2 separate regions of the Homo sapiens genome follow, and region 1 is linked to region 2. The links are contacts of gene promoters, found by promoter capture Hi-C in human tissues and cell types (Jung and others, 2019). All regions are on one chromosome and are shown on one strand. The core of a region is centred on a gene start or on the middle of the fragment in contact, and the rest is flanking DNA. Distances in the headings are between cores, read along the strand shown. Region 1 overlaps SH3D19 (SH3 domain containing 19). Region 2 holds the start of PRSS48 (serine protease 48).

What was found. The method cuts DNA at HindIII sites, captures the fragments that hold promoters and counts their contacts. A contact is called where the count stands out against the background at its distance.
Region 1: a contact is called between a fragment that was not itself captured here and the fragment with the promoter of PRSS48 in region 2, in 2 of the 25 tissues and cell types used here (H1 embryonic stem cells and dorsolateral prefrontal cortex).

Annotation. Positions count from the first base shown.
Region 1 is chr4:151,172,662-151,175,810 of GRCh38, reverse strand. SH3D19 (SH3 domain containing 19) reads left to right here. Exons shown (of 20, transcript NM_001378122.1): 7 at 137-1,141. LOC105377485 (a long non-coding RNA gene) reads right to left here. Exons shown (of 2, transcript XR_007058329.1): 2 at 1,700-3,149. Among named protein-coding and RNA genes, the nearest start is that of SH3D19-AS1, 50 kb to the right of the region's middle. The HindIII fragment of the contact is 5,014 bases long and covers 1-3,149 here.
Region 2 is chr4:151,275,702-151,279,120 of GRCh38, reverse strand. It overlaps PRSS48 (serine protease 48), which reads right to left and starts at 1,960. Exons shown (of 5, transcript NM_183375.5): 1 at 1,897-1,960. The coding sequence starts at 1,948. The region is part of intron 1 of SH3D19 (SH3 domain containing 19); the gene reads left to right. The HindIII fragment of the contact is 14,422 bases long and covers 1-3,419 here.

The DNA of each region.
Region 1 (3,149 bases), core at 202-2,701, 100 kb after region 2:
TAATTAAAAGAAACCAAAATCTCTTGATATTCCATGTATGTAGTTTTAAATCTGTGTATCTTCTATTTTTTTCCTTATACATTGTTAACGTTATGGCTTGTTTTTATTTGTTTTGGTTTTGTTTTGGTCTCGTCAGCACTACAGGCACCTCTCAAGCCTCTTCAGCCTTTCTCAGCAGTCTCGTCTGGCAATCTTCCAACAAATGTGGCACCTTTAATCGTCTTTGATATTTCTGAAGAACCGAATTGTCCAGAAAACCCCAGTGCTACAAGATGTCCAGTGCCAAAACCAAGATCAAAAAGCAACCTCAGACCAATACCCAGAGATTCTCACATTAAAGAGCAAAGTCAACAGAAAATCAGCCCAGCAGCCGTAGGAGAGGAGTCATCCCCAGGCCGGCCCCAGTCTCTGCTGGACAACGCTAGCACCTCAGACAGTCAGGCAGTGATGAACATTATGAACACAGAACAAAGCCAAAATAGTATTGTTTCCAGAATTAAAGTGTTTGAGGGTCAGACAAACATAGAAACCTCAGGACTGCCCAAGAAACCAGAAATTACTCCACGTTCACTTCCTCCAAAGCCTACTGTTTCCTCAGGGAAACCTTCTGTAGCTCCCAAACCAGCTGCTAACAGAGCTTCTGGAGAGTGGGACTCTGGGACTGAGAACAGACTCAAGGTGACCTCCAAGGAAGGACTCACCCCATACCCTCCCCTGCAAGAAGCGGGAAGCATCCCAGTAACCAAACCTGAATTGCCAAAGAAACCAAACCCTGGCCTTATACGAAGTGTTAATCCTGAGATTCCGGGAAGAGGGCCCCTGGCTGAGAGCTCTGATAGTGGGAAGAAAGTGCCAACTCCTGCCCCGCGGCCTTTGCTGCTGAAGAAATCTGTTTCCTCAGAAAACCCCACCTACCCTTCAGCTCCACTGAAACCTGTCACTGTTCCTCCCCGACTCGCAGGGGCATCACAAGCCAAAGCATACAAGTCACTGGGAGAAGGGCCCCCAGCCAACCCCCCAGTTCCAGTTCTGCAGAGCAAGCCCTTGGTGGACATCGATCTCATCAGCTTTGATGATGATGTTTTGCCCACCCCATCGGGGAACCTGGCTGAAGAATCTGTTGGTTCAGAGATGGTTCTAGGTGAGTGAAAAATCAGCAGTGGAGGGGAATCTAAACTCATGATAGGGTATTTTAAATGGCACTTGCTGTTTTAGTTTCTGGTACATAAGTTATTGAGGTGTGTGTATACAAGTATGTGCACATGCATGTGTGTGTATAGAAACAGAGGAATGAACAGACAGATCAAGAAACATGGGAGCTATGTGGGGAATGGAGACAGGGAGGGAAGGGAAAATATGGGATGGGGGTAATGGAGTCAGAAATGGGGAGACACATGCATCGATTACTATTATATGAGCCAGAAGTAAGCAGACTGGGGCTAGGAGCTAAACTATAATAGGTTGTGGGGCTGGCTCCCCTTACTCTTGGCAGATAGAAGTTCAGACTTCACATTGAAAGGATCCAGGGAGGTTATGGAACATGTAGAAGGATGCAGAGGAAGCTTCTCTTAGATGGGAAGTCATGCAGTGGCCCCAGAGGGGCTCCTCAGATGAAATGGGCCTCAGCTGGGAGTGCTGGGAGAGGGGCCAGCTCCAGGGGAGGACTCGAAAATGTACGGAATGAGGACCCAGCCACATGTTGCAAAGTTGTTCCTTTAATCTTCACAGAACATCTTCCCTTGAGAGTGAAAAGTTTTGTAAATAAAATACAACAGATACAAGTTAGCTGCCAAGATCAGTACAATTAAATATCCCAGAAGGCAGAGAGTATGTTTTCTTTCCTCTAACTGTTCCGTTGGAGAGTGTGATGGTAAAGCTTATCTTTGATTTGTCAAACTAAGCTGCTCTACTTGTCATTGATAAGATTTCTTTTACTGCTGTTGACTTATTTGGGTGGAATTTGTGAACATATAAACTTAATAGAATTTTCAAAAGCTTAACTGTCACTGTATAAATGTTTAACATGCATCAAAATAGTACAGGCTCTGTGATTTCACAGCCACATTCTGCATAGCACAGGTGTGTTTAAAATGAAAACAAACATACACATTATTAAATATTCATCATGCACAGAACATTGTAACTGACACACAACATTTTAGCGTATAAACTAAAAGACATACATGGCTTTTGTCCATAAAGGGTGGAAGGAAAAACATTTGAATATATTAAGCTTCTGCAGTGTACCTAATGCTCTGCTAAATACTGAGACATACATTATTTTATTTAATAATTGCAACAACCGTCTGTGAGTTATCATTGGCCTAAGTTTGCAAATGAAGACAGTGAGACTGAGAGAGATCTATGGATCACTTGCCCAGTGTCATAAAACAATTGTTCAAGTCAGGATTCAAACTTAGTGTTTTTATTCTAAGCCTAGTTTATTTTTCACTGTATAATGTTGCTACCCAATATTTTCATGAATCCTTAACCAGGCAACACTTTAAAAACTTTTCAAGTCTTTGATAATACCATTTTCTTATATAAACCTTTTTGGTATTAACAAGATTCAGAGAAGGACAGGGATAGATAAACCCAACAGCAGCAAGCTAAAGAAATATTACCTTTTGTAGAACTTGCTAGTTTCTATGGGGATGGCAACTCAACTAATAATTGCTGAGAATTTATTTTGTATCATCTAGCAGATAATTATAGTCATCTTCAAAAAGGAAGGTCAACAATATACTTTAAGCATGAATACAGTCTCATGCTTCATACTCAGCCTTTTCCATTTCTTGATTTCTACCACTTCATTGAACAACATTTAATTATTGGGGCGTCTTTTAGCAAAGTGTGTAATTTGCTTGTGCTATCTGACTTTAACCATTGCTCTGGACTATGGGGTTATACTGAGCTGAATACTATCTTCTTTCTAAATCTTCTTTCTTCCTATATTTTGCAACTCACTATTGACACCATCACACACACACCAGCCTTTCCTGGAGAAACCCAGAGATCATCCTTGAGTCTTCTCACCGTGTCACACAGTGGCTAGCTGTTCAGATTTGGAGTCTGCCAGGGTCTACCATATTTGTTACATGACCTTGGGCAATTTTCTTAACCTCACAGTGCCTCTGTTTCCTCATTTG
Region 2 (3,419 bases), core at 711-3,210:
AGGTCAGCCTATACTTGGGCCACAGCTTTATCTGTGGATGTTCCCTGGTCAGTGAGAGGTGGATACTGACAACAGCACACTACATACAAGTGTGAGCTCTAGCTGGTAGCTAGCACACAGACAGGTTCTCAGTGAATATTTGCATGACTACATAAATGAACCAATAGACAAATGAAAGTGGTAAGATTGACTGGGCACAGTGACTCACGCCTATAACCCCAGCACTTTGGGAGGCTGAGGTGGGTGGATTGCTCAAGTCCAGGAGTTCAAAACCAGCCTGGGCAACATGGCCAAACACCGTCTCTACAAAAAATATAAAGAAATTAGCCTGACATGATGGTGCATGCCTGTAGTCCCAGCTACTTGGGAGGCTGAAGCAGGAGGATTGCTTGAGCCCGGGAGGTGGAGGATGCGGTGAGTTTAGATCATGCCACTGCACTCCAGCCTGGGCGAGAGAGTGAGACCCTGTCTGAAAAGAAAAGGAAAAAAATGTGGTGAGATAGGCAGGGCAGAAGGAAACCCTAGGTCACATGGGACTCTCAAACTAGGGATGACCAGAGATAAGGCACAGAAGTAGAAAAAGGAATGTTGGAGACAGGTGCTATATTAGAGACTTTTCTTACTTTTCACAAATCACTTCCTAAATACTAGTCAGGGTTTTTTTTTTCTTCTTTTGGGCCACAAACACAACAGGTGTGGTTCAACCACACCTGTAGTCCCAGCTACTAGGGAGGCTGAGTGGGAGGATTGCTTGAACCCAGGAGTCTGAGGTTGCAGTGGGCTATGATTGCACCACTGCACTCTAACCTGGGTGACAGAGTGAGACTCTGTCTCTTAAAAAAAAAATGCTCTATGAAGATTCAAATTTAGCTTTTACTTGATTCAAGGTCACCATCAGGAATATGAAGTATGTTAGTTTATAAATACAATGATGCCCTCAGATGCGGTTGAGGTTGCAAGCTGTTTACTTTTGTGCTATTTGGTTTAACTGAATTGGCATTTTGCAGTATTTGTGTATCTTTCTTCTTTGCTACCTGTTAAGTTTTTTGCTCTCTCAGCATACCCTTTCTGTTTTTTGGGGGGACGGGGTCTTACTCTGTCGCTAAGGCTGGAGTGCAGTGGCGCTATCTCGGCTTACTGCAACCTCCACTTTCCAGGCTCAAGCACTTCTCCTGCCTCAGTCTATTGAGTAGCTGGGACTACAGGTGCCCGCCACCACGCCCGGCTAATTTTTGTATTTTTTGTAGAGATGGGGTTTCACCATGTTGCCCAGGCTGGTCTTGAACTCCTGATCTCAGGTGATCTGCCCGCCTTGGCATCCCAAAGTGCTGGGATTACAGGCGTGAGCTGCTGTGCCTGGCCAGTATACCCTTCCTTTAAATCCCTGTGGACCAGAAAAATAAATGAACAAGCATATACCTGAAATCATAGAATAGTGTTTGCTCTTCCAGTTCCCTCTGCTTGAGATGCTCTTTTCCTGGATCCTCTTACTTAATTTAGTTATCCCCTTCAGTTCTGCTCAAATGACTCCTTCTTAGTGAGGCCTTCTTTAACTACCCTTCTAAAGATTGCAACACTCCTGCCCCTGTACTTCAGATGCCCCTTTCCTTTCATAGTACTTATTACCTTCTAACAAGCCTTATAATTTACACATTTAATATGTGCATTGATTATAAGTCCCACGAAGATAGGGATCTTGTGGGTGTGTGTGTGTACTGCTATTTCCAATCGGGAGCATTGGAATGGTGCTGGGTATATAGTAGCCTCTCAGGACCTTCTCAGGCTGTGCTACTCATAACTAACATCCCATGGGTGAAGTGTCACATTGTTCTATGTGATGCCCTCTTTAGTAAAAATCCTCTGCCTCTGCCTTCTCAACCCCACCCTGGCGCTCACCTGAGATCCCCAGCAGAAGGAGCAGCGTGAAGGCACAGCCAGCAGGGCCCATGTCTCTGTCCTCAGAGCCAGTGAGCGCTTCCTGCTTCCTGGACTCAGGCTCCCAGGAAGAGGCCAATGGGGAGCTGCCAGAACTAGCTTCTCCTAGATGGATTCCTCTGCTTCACCCCCTCCTCTCCTTTGGTCTTCACCCGCTGCCAGATCCTGAAGGGACCAGACTTCAGAAGTGCAGCTGCAGGACCCAGGGGAGGAACTGGGGTCTGTGGCGCCCCCTGCTGTCCTGGGAGAGCAGGGTTTCTGGGGTTTCTGCCTGTGGTGTTGAGGAGTGGCTGGTTGAGGGCACTGGAAGAAACAGGACCCTGTCTCTAGCAAGGAGATAGAAGGTGGACAGGATTCTCCAAAAGCAAGAAATGGAAAAGAGGAAATGAACCCAGTATCTGGTTAATTTTTCTGAGTTTTTTTGTTTGTTTGTTTTCATTTCTGTTACAGTGTTAGCTGCACTGCAAGTCAAGTTTCCTGGGAAACAGACTCTAAGACAGAGATTTGTGTGCAGGAAATTTATTTTAGAGTGGTCTCAGGATCAGCAGCTCTTGGGTGGGTAGTAGGATTGGTTAGAGGGAGAGTTGAACTGTGATGCGTTTGCAACAGAGGCCACAGCCTATCTCACAAGTTTCTCTGGAGCTGAGGTGGCCCTCAGAGACTTTCTGTACTGAGCTAAGAAGGATGCGTTCTTAGGGGTCTGCATCATTGGATGCAGGCCACCTCCTAGGAGGGGGCATTACCTTGGGTGAGGTGGCTCTGTTGGCAGTTCTTGGAATAAGACTTAGCTGTGAACTGTCAGCAGCCAACACTCCTAGCTGCTAAGGGAATGAATGCTTCAGTTCTAAAGGGGGGTCTGGATGGTACACCACAACATCTACCTCAGAAATCTTCACTCTGCCTTTTGTTTTCTGTGCCAATTGTTTGTAGGGTGCTAGGTCTGTGGAGGCAGAATTCAATGAACTATTAAAATGTTACTGCTCTCTTGCAACTTAAAATATTGGGATGCTTGAAAGAAACATATAAGCAGTTTAAAACTAATAGGCCAGGCACGGTGGCTCATGCCTGTAATCCCAGCACTTTGGGAGGCCGAGGCGGGTGGATCACCTGAGGTCAGGAGTTTGAGACCATCCTGGCCAACATGGTGAAATCCCGTCTCTACTAAAAATACAAAAATTAGCTGGGTGTAGTGGCGTGCACCTGTAGTCACAGCTACTCGGGAGGCTGAGGCAGGAGAATCGCTTGAACCCGGGAGGCGGAGGTTGCAGTGAGCCAAGATGGCGCCACTGCACTCCAGCCTGGGCGACAGAGCGAGACTCCGTCTAAAAAAAAAAAAATAATAATAATAATAATAATAATAGAAGTGGCTGGGCGTGGTAGCTTACGCCTATTATCCCAGCACTTTGAAAGGCTGAACGGGGAGGATCCCTTGAGACCAGGAGTTTGAGATCAGCCTGGGCAATACAGTGAGACCCTATATCTAC